3 separate regions of the Homo sapiens genome follow, and all the other regions are linked to region 3. Evidence: promoter capture Hi-C in 16 types of primary human blood cells and fetal thymus (Javierre and others, 2016). All regions are on one chromosome and are shown on one strand. The core of a region is centred on a gene start or on the middle of the fragment in contact, and the rest is flanking DNA. Distances in the headings are between cores, read along the strand shown.

Region 1 (4,331 bases), core at 574-3,073, 470 kb before region 3:
AGGAGAAGAAAAAAAAAGGTAAAGTGACCAGATGGAACCTTGGGAACCTTCCAACCATTACACAGTGTGGGGGCACCAGGCCCGCCCTTCTCATTTATCAGGGAGAGTCTCAGCACCCTAGGTGGGCAGCTCTCCGAGATAGTCAGGAGGGTGAAATGGGAGGTAGAGAGCAAAGAAAGGCAATAGGGCCCATACAAAAAGTCATTCATTCACACATGCAAATGGTGTGCTTCCAAATGAGTCCCCAGTCAAGGGTCTGGGTGAGGTCCTGAATCCCCCGCCCCAGTTCCAAATGGCTCCACAGGAAGCTGAGTCTGAGCCAAGTTCCTATGGAACTTCATATTCAAATAAATACAAATGCATAAAATGCTCAAATGCTATCACTAGCAGCCAGGTCTTAAATACAGTAGGGCCTTGGGCCAGGCGCGGTGGCTCATGCCTGTAATCCCAGCACTTTGGGAGGCCAAGGTGGGCGGATCACCTGAGGTCAGGAGTTCAAGACCAGCCTGATCAACATGGAGAAACCCTATCTCTTCTAAAATACAAAAATTAGTGGGGCATGATGGCGGGTGCCTGTAATCCCAGCTACTTGGGAGGCTGAGACGGGAGAATCGCTTGAACCTGGGAGATGGTGGTTGCAGTGAGCCGAGACTGGGCCACTGCACTCCAGCCTGGGCAGCTGAGCAAGACTCCATCTCAAAAAAAAAAATAATATATATATAGCACGGCCCCAGCGACACCCCAAAAGAGCCAAGTCTTAAATAGGGCAAGGCCACCCAGTTTGGGTACACTCCAACTACTCACTCAGTTTCAAAGTTTGTCAGCGTCTTAAGAGGCCATTTTGCTTGTACCAGTGAAGCACCAAAGGCAGCAGTTGTCATGCCATGAGGCAAAAGGGAGCTTCCCCCAAAACAAATTCATTTTTGGCAGCTTCTGGGAAGTTTCCTAATGTTCCCATTATGGGGTCTGCTAGCCATGAGCAGCTGGCACTCACAGGTGACCCCACACCTCACCTGGTAGTGAAACTGGGCTGACAAAGTTAGCTCACCCAGGGCATGAAGTACTTCCCCATATGAGCCACAAAAATTGTAACCAAAACACAAGTCCAGTCACTCCCCACTCCACATTTTGTAACCAAAACACAAGTCCAGTCACTCCAATTAACAGGAGCAAGGTATAAAGAAAGTGACATTTTATTCCAAAGCTTGCTTAGGGGAAGAGGAGCAGGATCTTGTCTTTATGGGTACCACCTCACTTTTGGAGCAGAAAGTGGGGTGCTTTTAAAGGGGGCCCAGCATGCTGGCATGAATGACATGCAGAGGAGTCAGTGAGCAGGTGGGGGGTCTGCATACTAGCCTCGGTGCCTTATCTACCGGGTGGTCAAGCTGGTAACTGCTGGTCCCTTTGTGGACAAGACTAGGTTGTAAAAGCAGCAGAAAATTCTCCAGGTGGGAGAGAGTTTCACAGTGGAAATACTTTAGGTAGTAGATGGACTGTTGTTTCTTTAGGCAGCCTCCTGGTAGGAGAGTTTCACTCTGGAGCTTCTAACAACCTAGTTAAATAAACTTGCCCTCTAGGGAGTGTCTGGTGAAGAGGAGGTAAAGGCTATAACTGCATTTCTAAAGACCTAAGTAGGAAGTGGGGAAAAGAAGGAGAGCGAGAAGAAGAAAGATAGTAAAAAACTATCTCTTAGAAAAATGAGGGTACACAGTTACACTATGATTAATAAAAAAAGGGATGGAAAAAAGTACACAACATGCAAAATCAGATAGATAATGTCAATACAGACAGAAACTATGAGAAAGAATCAAAAGGAAATGCTAGAAATCAAAGAAACAGTAGCAGAAATGAGGAATGCCTTTTGGTGGTTTATCAGTAGACTTGAGATAGCTAAGGAAAGAATAGGTAAACTTGAATATTGGTCAAATTTTTTTTTTTTTTTTCTGAAACGGGGTCTCACTCTGTTGCCCAGGCTGGAGTGCAGTGGCGTGATCTTGGCTCACTGCAACCTCCACCTCCCAGGTTCAAGTGATTCTCCTGCCTCAGCCTCCCAAGTAACTGGGATTACAGGCACGCACCACCATGCCTGGCTAATTTTTGTATTTTTAGTAGAGACGGGGTTTCACCATGTTGGTCAGCTGGTCTCGAACTCCTGACCTCGTGATCCACCCGCCTCGGCCTCCCAAAGTGCTGGGTTACAGGCGTGAGCCACTGCGCCCGGCCAGAATATTGCTCAATTTTAAAAGTTCCCAAACTGAAAAACAGAAGGAAAATAAATTTTAAAAAAGAATACAATATGCAAGAACTGTGGGCCAATATCAAAAGGTATAACTGAATACCAGAAGCATAAGAAATAGAACAGGACAGAAGAAATATTTGAAATAATACATGGCTAAGAACTCCCAAAACTAATGACAAACACCAAAGCCAACCTTTCTGTGGCTAAGCTTCCTGGCTCTAATTGAAGATAATAACGGTATCATCAAACTACAAATCCAGGAAGCTCAGAGAAGTCCAAAACAAACAATTAAAAATAAAATCCTACAACCAGGCATTTCATATTCAAACTGCAGCAAATCAAAGACAAAGAAAATCTTGAAGGAAGCCAGAAGGAGAAAAAAAAAAAAACAAACCAGAACTAAGGATACAGATTATATCAGATTTGGCTTCAGAAACACGTGAGCAAGAAGAGTGAGGTGAAATCTTTGAAATGCTGAAACAAACCCTGTCAACCTATATTTCTATATTCAGCAAAATTTTCCTTCAACGGTGAAAAATAAAGCCTTTTGTGGAGAAAACTGAGGGATTTCATTGCCAGCAGACCTGCCCTGCAAAAATGTTAAAGATATTCTTCAGAGAGAAAAAAAAATGATATAGGTCAAAAATTATACAAAGAAAAGCATTAGAAAAGGAACAAGTGAAATTAAAATAATATTTTTAATTGATCTAAAAGATAGCTATTTAAAGTAATAATAGTAACAATGTATAGGGTGACTATAGCATATGGACAAGTGAAATAATTGACACCAATGTCACAAGGAATGGGAGGAATGAATCGGGAGTAGTCTTATAAAGTTATATAATGTTATTTGAAGGTGGACTTATTTTAAAATATATATTGTAAACCCTAGGGATATTACTAAATTTTTTATAAAAGATATATGATATACCAAGTAAAGATATAAAATCAAATCATACAAAATGCTTAATTAACCCCAGAGAAGTCAGAAAAACAGCAGGAGAAAGAAATAAAGAACAAATGCAATGAACAGAAAACAATTACAAAGATGGTAAATTTTAATGCAACTATATCAATAATCCCTTTAAATATGAATGTTCTAAACACACCAGAGACTGTCAGGTTGAATTAAATTAAAAAAAAAAACTAGACTTACCTGTGTGCTGGCTACCACAAACCTACTTTAAATTTAAAGACTCAGAAAAGTTAAAAACAAAATGATAGGAAGAGAAATTCCATGGTAAATCGATCAAACGACAGTATCATATGCTCTGTCAATTATCAATTACTATATAACAAATAGCTTCAAAGCACGTTTACTTGAAAAAATAACTACTTTTTCATAATTCTGTGGATCAACAATTTGGGCTAAGGTAAGTAGAGTTGTTTTCATGGTCTCACTCTGTGGTTGCAGTCAGTTGATGGTGGGAATCGATGAACAGTCCAAGTCAATTTCCCTCACATATATCTACTGGTGTCTGGGCTGTTCTCTTCTTGCAGTCTTTCAACTTTAAGGAAACTAGTTTAAGTGTCTTAACGTGACAGTCTCTGAGCAGCTGGAAGGTGAGATTGGATGCTGCAACACTTTTTGATAACTTCCCCAGAAGTCACACAATGTTACTTCAGCCTCAATTTTACTGGTCAAAGTGAGTCAAGTTACTGACCATCCAGCTCAGATCAAGGGGTCAGAAGATGGAGTCTACTTTCTAATGGAAGGAGTTTAATTTTTAATGCATTATATATGTTGATACATCTGGGTTTGGAAATTTGAGAAGGTGAAAAGAGAAAGATCTTTTTGAGGGTTTTTATTCTAATTATTTTGCATTTTGGAATTTGGACAAGTTTAGCCAACCTTTCCGTGGCTAAGCTTCTTTGCTCTAATTGAAGATAATAACAGTATCACCTCACAGGATTGTGAAGATTCAATGAGATAATATATATAGCATGTCTAGAGGAGTACCTGGCTCGTGTAGGGCCTCTAAATGTTTATTATTATTGGCAATAAATGAACTTAGTTTCTAGCTTCAACATTGTCACGAACTAGCTAAGGTATGCTTTTCAAGACATTTAACACCCACAAGCCAGTTTATTT
Region 2 (4,179 bases), core at 1,560-4,059, 480 kb before region 3:
ACCTTAATTGTTCCACATTTCATTATAAAATACTTTAGTTTTCTAGTAGCTATTGGAAAGCAAAGATAAATCATCAGAATTATTACAGATTTTATTCCTTTAAAAAAGTTCTTTTTTTTTTTTTTGAGACAGAGTCTCACTCTGTTGCCCAGGCTGGATGGAGTACAGTGGCGCAATCTCGGCTCACTGCAATCTCCCCCCCCCGGGTTCAAGCGATTCTCCTGCCTCAGCCTCCCAAGTAGCTGGGATTACAGGTACCCACCACCATGCCCGGCTAAATTTGTGTTTTTAGTGGAGATGGCGTTTCACTATGTTGGCTGGGCTGCTCTCGAACTCCTGACCTCAAGTGATCCGCCCGCCTTGGCCTCCACAGTGCTGGGATTACAGGCGTGAATCACCACATTCAGCCTAAAAAAAGTTCTTTATCAGGCCGGGTGCAGTGCCTCATGCCTGTAATTCCAGCACTTTGGGAGGCCGAGGTGGGCGGATCACGAGGTCAGGAGTTCGAGACCAGCCCGGACAACATGGTGAAACCCCATCTCCACTAAAAATACAAAAATTAGCCAGGTGTGGTGGTGCATGCCTGTAGTCCCAGCTACTTGGGAGGCTGAGGCAGGAGAATCGCTTGAACCCAGGAGGCGGAGGTTGCAGTGAGCCAAGATCGCACCATTGCACTCCAGCCTGGGTGACAGAGCGAGACTCTGTCTCAAAAAAAAAAAAAGAAAAGTTCTTTATCTAGATAAAGAAATGCTCTGCATTCTGAGTTCATTTTTATTAACTTTTTTAGTTACTAAATTAACACTTTCTATATTCAGGGCAACGTGGACTTACTCTAACTTTTTGCTTTTAGTTCGTGAAGTGACCGAACCTCTGAATTTAAATCCAGCTAAACGGCCTCGTCGACAAGACTGGGATGGAGAATTATATGAAAATGGCTCATTTTATTTTGCTAAAAGACATTTGATAGAGATGGGTTACTTGCAGGTTTGTACCTTCATTTTGCATAACCCTTTTAAGCGCTTTTGTAGGCATACTTTGAGTTCTAGGGAAGAAGTATGGTACAATTTCTTTATGATAAAGAAAAGTATCAACCTATAGAGGAAAGGTAATAGCCAACAACATTTGCTATCTGAGGCATTTATCCTGCAGGTTTACCCCAAAGTGATCTTTGGAATCCATTCAGTAAATATGCAAGGAATTCTGCTACAACGATAAAAAAATGAATCAAGTACTGGGTGTCTACACATGTCCTGGTACTCATATTATTCCACTCAAAACTACGTAATCCATGTTTGTGTTATAGTTATATTGTGGCTGTAGGGTTGAATAACTTCTATTGCTTTAAAAAGACAAATAATTTCATAGAGGTGAAAAGAGTTACAACCTGGGTGTCAGGAAACCCGGAATCTTTTTATATATATATATATATATATTTTTTTTTTTTTTTATTATACTTTAAGTCAACTGCCTCTTACTATGTAAGCTTGAATATGTATCATTTTATCTGTCCTGACTCTCATTTTCAAATAACAGATTTAATGTCTCTCTCATTTTAGAGCCTGCAACATGGTTGCATCATATATTTCTTAACTTGTTAATTTTAGTTATCATTATTATTTATTATTTACTGTGTACTTCGGAGTAGGTGAAACACTTTGCATATGTTATCTTATGTAATCTGCATAGCGAATGAATGAAGTGGACATTTCTACCCAGTTTTACAGAGGAGGAAAACTGCCTCACTGAAATATGAAGTAATTGACTCAAGGCAAAAACAGCTAATAAATGGTACTGTCAGGATTTGGATTCAGGTTCTTATGTTACTCAAGAAATAGCGGTTTTAAAGAGAGAGAGAGAAACCTCTCCATTGTGTAATAAAAATTCTAATGGGACTATTATTCTGAGCAAAAGAGAGAAAAACATTTTTACAAATCTTCTGGTCAATGTGTAGGCAAACTATAGACTAGCTGTTTAGTTAAATTTAAGTGTTCAGAAAAATTGGATTTGACACACATAGATACTACCATTTTTAAGCTTTTTTCTAAGGAGGACCATGATTAACCCATTCCTAAAGTGTGGAGAAAAATGTTTCTCATTAAAACAAGGTTTATGAAGAGACTGACAATTCTGAAAAAAAAAATGAAATTGAAATTGTCCAGTAATTGATCTTGTCATTCAAATAATTACTATCAGAAGAAAGACCCTTTCTCTTGCTGACCCTTGCCTAGAATCAAGAGACTGCCCTTGCCTTTGCCTGCATGTGACTTGGATGACTATTAGTCATTTTCATCAGTAGCTCAGAGATCTAAGAAAACTCTGTACAACAGATGCTACAGTTATTTTTCCTCCCCTGTGTTGCCTGTTAGTTGCAAATTAGAACAGAAGTTCCAAAAACCTTAATACTGCTTTTGGATGATGACAGGAGAGACTTCTTGAAAAAAAGGAGGATATGATTAAGGGATTTCCACAAAATCCCTTGTGGTCAGAAACCTGGAGGATGTAATATTTCTGCTTTTTTCAATATTAAAATAGAAATTTTCTTAAATAGGGAACTTGAACTGTTTAGATAGAATTTGAAAAATGTTAAGGTTATTTCTTTTGTGTGAGCTTTCTCCTTAAAAAAAAAAAAAAAAAAAAAAAAAAAGCTGGGCGTGGTGGCTGAAGCATGTCATCCCAGCACTTTGAGAGGCCAGCTTGAGGCCTCAAGAGGATAGCTTGAGGCCAGGTTTCCAAGACCAGCCTTGGCAACATAGCAAGATCTTATATCTACAAAAAACTTTTTAAAAATTTAGCCGGACATGGTGCTGTATACCTGTAGTACCAGATCCTTAGGAGGCTGAGGTGGGAGGATTGCTTGAGCCTAAGATTTCAAGGTTATAATGAGCTATGATTGCACCATTGCACTCCAGCCTGGGAGGCAGAGTGAAACCCTGACTCGAAAAAATAAAAAAGTAAAAATAAATTTAAAAATCATTTTTATGTGACTGATTTTTACTGGGTTATTCATTTTTCTCAGTACTGTAGAAATGAATTCATTGTTCTGTATTATAATAAAGTTTTGATATATGTGAATGAATATTAAAAACAGTATTCATGACATTTATACTACCTTTAGGGTGGAAAAATGGCATACTACGAAATGCGAGCTGAACATAGTGTGGATATAGATGTGGATATTGATTGGCCTATTGCAGAGCAAAGAGTATTAAGGTAAAAACAAATAAACCTTTATAACCTTTGTACTAAATCTTAATAATTATATTTCTAGATACTGATTTCTGATACTTCAGACATCTTAGGATCTTTGTAATTACTTTGTTCATGTGAGGAAGACATGTAAAATATGTGTTTACATGGCTTCAATAAAGTGAGAAACATTATCTGGCTAGACCACACTACTTTTACTTACTGTACTATATGTTAAAATATATATGTGAAGTAAATTTGGAGAGTAATGTTTGAATAATTGAATGGAGGGTGACATTTCATGTATTGGTTTAGCCAGATGAGAGGGAGTGATTAGTACTGCACTTGTACTCAAAGGTCTATTTTGGTTTCTTTTAGATATGGCTATTTTGGCAAAGAGAAGCTTAAGGAAATAAAACTTTTGGTTTGCAATATTGATGGATGTCTCACCAATGGCCACATTTATGTATCAGGAGACCAAAAAGAAATAATATCTTATGATGTAAAAGATGCTATTGGGATAAGTTTATTAAAGAAAAGTGGTATTGAGGTATGTGCTCCCTGAATATAGCAGTATTTTATAATATTTTGATTCAGGGTCAAAGAACATGCAAGGAATTAAGAGATTTAAATTTTTAGTATTAACTCTTAAAATATCTGAAATTTGGCCTTCATACGCCTAGAAAATTATTATACTATTTAGTTTTAGATGAGTAGAATTAGGAATTTGTTAATCAGCAAATAATATTTCTTGTTTATTCAGTAAATATAAACATAACTACTTTTAAATGGGAGCTATCTAATGTTTCCCAAAGGATCTTGCAGCAAGAAAGATTCCCTAGATAATAGGTGTACCATTTTAGAAAAGGACGATATCCTGTGGATTTTTAAAATCTAGCTTATTCTTATGAATGACATTTTTGATTCAAAATAACTTAACGTTTAAGTGTATTTTTTTAAATGAAAGCTAGCTAAGATAATTATAATTTACCA
Region 3 (3,962 bases), core at 102-2,601:
TGCTGCTCTAATGCTCTGGCTCATCACGCCAATTTTTATTACAATCTTTACTTGGCTTCTTTCAGACTCTGGGTTATTACCTTCCGGCCGTAGGCCTTTACTAATTTGCATGACTTTTAAACTAATCATTAGACTTAAAAAGCAATTTTGCAATTTAAGTCCATGGCAATTAAATGACTTCCTACCTCAAGGCGCTAAATTACCCTGAAACACCTCATCAGACCTACCAGCCTATACAAGAGCAGGAAGTGTTGCAGTTGTGTTTTAGAACGTGCATGGCAGATTCACAAAATGTTAGGCATGAGAGTGGATTTCCTCGCACTGTGGGACTCCAAGTGCCCATAAAGGGCTTCATGCACCTTCTTAAACATGATGTCCAGCACTCTGGCCACCCCTTCCAAGGGTGTGTGTGTGCCTGTGTGTGTGTGTGTTTCAGTGGCTGCGGGGCCACACCTTGGGATCTCCTGAGTGGCAGGTGGCCTGTTAATGAGTCCTGACATCAGAGTCATTCCGGCATTTGTGTGTGTGTGTGTGTATGTGTGTGAGTGTGTCGGTGGCTGCGCGGCCACGCCTTGGGATCTCCTGAGTGGCAGGTGGCCTGTTAATGAGTCCTGACATCAGGGTCACCCCCGCATGCACAACAGTACAAGCCTCCCCGCGCAGCGGACTGTGCCGCGGACGCCTGCAAGCCGTGCACCCATCGCACACACTGAGGTCTCGGCGGTCATCCCTCGTGGGAGAGCTGGACAACCACGGCCGAAGGGAGGGCAGTCGAGGGGGGAATAGGCTGAGGGGCTGGGGGCGAGGTGGGTAGATCCTTCACAGGGCTTGGCGCTCCCTGTGTTTTGAGGGGCAGGACCCTGCACCAACCTCCACGAAGGCATCAGTCAGGTCACTAGCACGGTCCATCACTGGCAAATGGCGCCCGGCCACGATTTTCACCTTCAGCTTCCCTGGCATGGTCTCGGTTTCGGCCTCTTCTTGGGCTCCTGCAGAAACAAACAAACGAGTCTGCGCCGAGCGCGGGGCCGGCGGGAGAGGGGCGGAGGCGCGCGGGGTAACTGACAGCGAAGGAGCGCGCGGGGGCGCGCGCGGGCGCCCGGCAGTCGCGCCACGGGTCGCCACTCACTGTCGCAGGAGGAAGGGTGCTGTCCCGCGCGGGTGCTGAGACCTCATTCCGGAGAGGCGGCGGGAGGAAGGGCTTTGATGGGTTCTTCCGTCCCGGCCCCACAAGGCTGGGACGAAAAGCAAAACCCAGTCAGCATCCCGTTGAGCCTCTGCCGCCCCTGCTTGTCTCTCCTCCCCCGCTCTCAAAAATGGCGGCTCTCGGGGCGCGGAAGAAAGCATCGATCGTTCGGCGCTCTGCCCACTTGGCGGGGCGAAACTAAACTCGCCGAGGAAAGATAAGGGGGCGGGGCTGACGTTGAGAAAGCTGGAGGGCAGGGAAATGGGCCGAGTCCTGCATCATCCACCGAGTGGGGGCTGTGGATAGGTGCGGCGCTGCTTCCCTGGAGGGAAACGCTCCATCTTGCGGGCCGAAGCGCGAGTGCTGCTCTGTGACAGCCTCCGGCCGCGGCCTTCCCAGCTGCTACCGCCGCTTTTCGGATGGGCTGTGATAGATGGAGTAGCAGCGAAGACTGCTAGAAGAGCGTTTTCAGTCGGCCTTTAGTGATTCGTAAAACCAAATTAGCTGGTTTCTACTTGGAAGGGGTACAGGTGCGTGTGGTGGTTCCAGTTTTCTGTGAAATAGAGTTAGATGGCCAGGCACAGTGGCTCACGTCTGTAATCCCAGCACTTTGGGTGGCCGAGGCGGGCGGATCACCTGAGGTCAGGAGTTCAAGACCAGCCTGGACAACATGGCGAAACCCCGTCTCTACTAAAAATACAAAAATTAGCTGGGCGTCGTGGCGAGCGCCTCTAATTCCAGCTACTCAGGAGGCTGAGGCAGGAAAATCGCTTGAACCTGCGAGGCGGAGGTTGCAGTGAGCCGAGATCACTCCTCTGTCTCCAAAAAAAGAAAAAAAAGAAAGAAAGAAATAGAGATACCAGGCACATCTCGAATAGTGAAATAAATATTTAGTGAAATATTTTATTCAGTCATAGGCACTTGTGTTGTGCACTGGGTCACAGATATTACTGTGGGCGGGGTGGGGGAGGTCACCTTGAAATCCAAAGTCTCCTCTTGAAAAAAAGTTTCTGCTGGTAGGTGTGGTGGCTCAGATTTGTAATCCCAGCACTGTGGGAGGCTGAGGTGGGAGGATCGATTGAGTCCAGGAGTTCGAGACCAGCCTCATGGAGACGAGGCAACACAGTAAGACCCCTTCTTTACAAGAAATGCAAAAATTAGCTGGGCCGGTGGCTCGTCTGTGGTCTCAGCTACCTAGGAAGCTGAGGTGGGAGAATCTGGGAGAATTGCTTGAGCCCAGGAGTTTGAGGCTGCAGTGAGCTGCCATCTCACCACTGCACCCCAACCTGGGCAACAGAGCAAAACTCTGTCTCTTAAAAAAAATTTTTTTTTAATTAAATGTCCTGCACTCTTAGATCATCTCAGTGTTCTTATTAAGCATCCACAAGCCTAAAGATAAGACCTACAGTAGTAGCAGAAGTTCAGGACTTCCTACCATGGAAAGTATAGTCAACCACAAGAAATAAACATGGAGAGCGTTAAACATCTTGAAGAATTGACCCAACTATAAATAAAGTAAGGTGTTATCTACAGGCTCAGACCATATTAGGGAAATTGAGGCACACACAAGATGTAAATAAATCAGTCCTTACCAAATATCAAAATCAGCATTGACAGTATACCCAGTATCAACAAAATCAGAGTTCATGCCGGCTCAAAGATTGTAACATTTCATTCCTAAGTGAAGATATCCGTATGATCTTTTTAACTTCGAAAATACTCAATAGAGTAAATACTCCAAACAGTAGTGATCCCGAATTATCTTTTCATGACAAAAATTCCTTCTATGGCAGGAATATTGTTCACATAAGTGAGAAATTGAACTCCTACAGAGAAAACGACTTCCTCAAAATAAAAATCTAAAAAAATCGCTTGCTTTTTGGACTAGAGAAACTTTTATCAATTCAAACTATGTCAAAGGAATAGGGGTCATAGATCCCATGCGAATTTCCTTAGGTCCACCTGCAGCTTTTTCTGGAGTCTGACTCTGCCCTTAAAATACCCTTGCCAGAATTCTGAAGGTTGGCTACACTATGTGATCAACGTTTTTTATTTATTTATTTATTTAGAGACAGGGACTCACTCTGTGTCCCACACTGGAGTGCAGTGACATGATCATAGCTCACTACAGCCTCAATCTTCTGGGCCAAGCGATCCTCCCACCTCAGCCCCCCAAGTTCCTGGGACTACAAGCACATACCACCATGCACCGCTAGTTTTTTAAATTTTTTGAAGAGATGGAGTCTCCCTGTATTGCCCAGGCTGGTCTCAATCCTGGTTTAAGCCATCCTCCTGCCTTGACCTCACAAAGTGGTGGGATTACAGGCATGAGCCATCTTGCCCGGCATGATCAGTGTTTTTTGTTGTTTTGGGTGGTAGAGTTGAAGTCGTTTTTGTGGTGAAATCGAAGTATTACCGTATTACCAACTCATTTTTTAAAATATGAAATGTATAAAGAAAAAATATTAGAAAATTGAAGTTTAGCACCAATATTAATGGAAAATAATGCATTGTGTTCCAAAATGTAAAAAGTTGCAAATTGCACAATTAGAGGTTAGCAATCTCAGCCTCCTAATTAGTAGACTTTGAGGTACTTGTACGTACTTGTTGCCTTAGGCTTCATCAACAAGAGATTATAATTAAGATGCTTCCTGAAAACTATTTTTAGTAGATTTAAGCCTGACTTCAGTTGAACTGTTTCCTAATAATTGTTCTCGTTTGTTTTCATTAATGCTGGGAACAGTGCTAACTTTCTGACAAATCTACCATGATGTGA

Evidence for each region. Contacts are between HindIII fragments. The CHiCAGO score rates a contact against its expected background, and 5 or more counts as called.
Region 1: a fragment that was not itself captured here is called in contact with the fragment with the promoter of C2CD5 in region 3 in 1 of 17 cell types (non-activated CD4 T cells); the score reaches 6.5 in non-activated CD4 T cells.
Region 2: a contact is called between a fragment that was not itself captured here and the fragment with the promoter of C2CD5 in region 3, in 9 of 17 cell types (non-activated CD4 T cells, M0 macrophages, naive B cells and 6 more). The highest score is 10.5, in non-activated CD4 T cells.

Annotation. Positions count from the first base shown.
Region 1 is chr12:22,076,723-22,081,053 of GRCh38, forward strand. The region is part of intron 1 of LOC105369690 (a long non-coding RNA gene); the gene reads right to left. Among named protein-coding and RNA genes, the nearest start is that of CMAS, 33 kb to the left of the region's middle. The HindIII fragment of the contact is 1,243 bases long and covers 1,203-2,445 here.
Region 2 is chr12:22,057,717-22,061,895 of GRCh38, forward strand. CMAS (cytidine monophosphate N-acetylneuraminic acid synthetase) reads left to right here. Exons shown (of 8, transcript NM_018686.6): 4 at 851-984; 5 at 3,116-3,210; 6 at 3,565-3,736. Among named protein-coding and RNA genes, the nearest start is that of CMAS, 14 kb to the left of the region's middle. The HindIII fragment of the contact is 1,555 bases long and covers 2,033-3,587 here.
Region 3 is chr12:22,543,191-22,547,152 of GRCh38, forward strand. It overlaps C2CD5 (C2 calcium dependent domain containing 5), which reads right to left and starts at 1,352. Exons shown (of 27, transcript NM_001286176.2): 1 at 1,130-1,352; 2 at 871-989. The coding sequence starts at 960. RefSeq lists enhancers at 1-112, 1,253-1,482 and a silencer at 993-1,112. The HindIII fragment of the contact is 7,848 bases long and covers 1-3,962 here.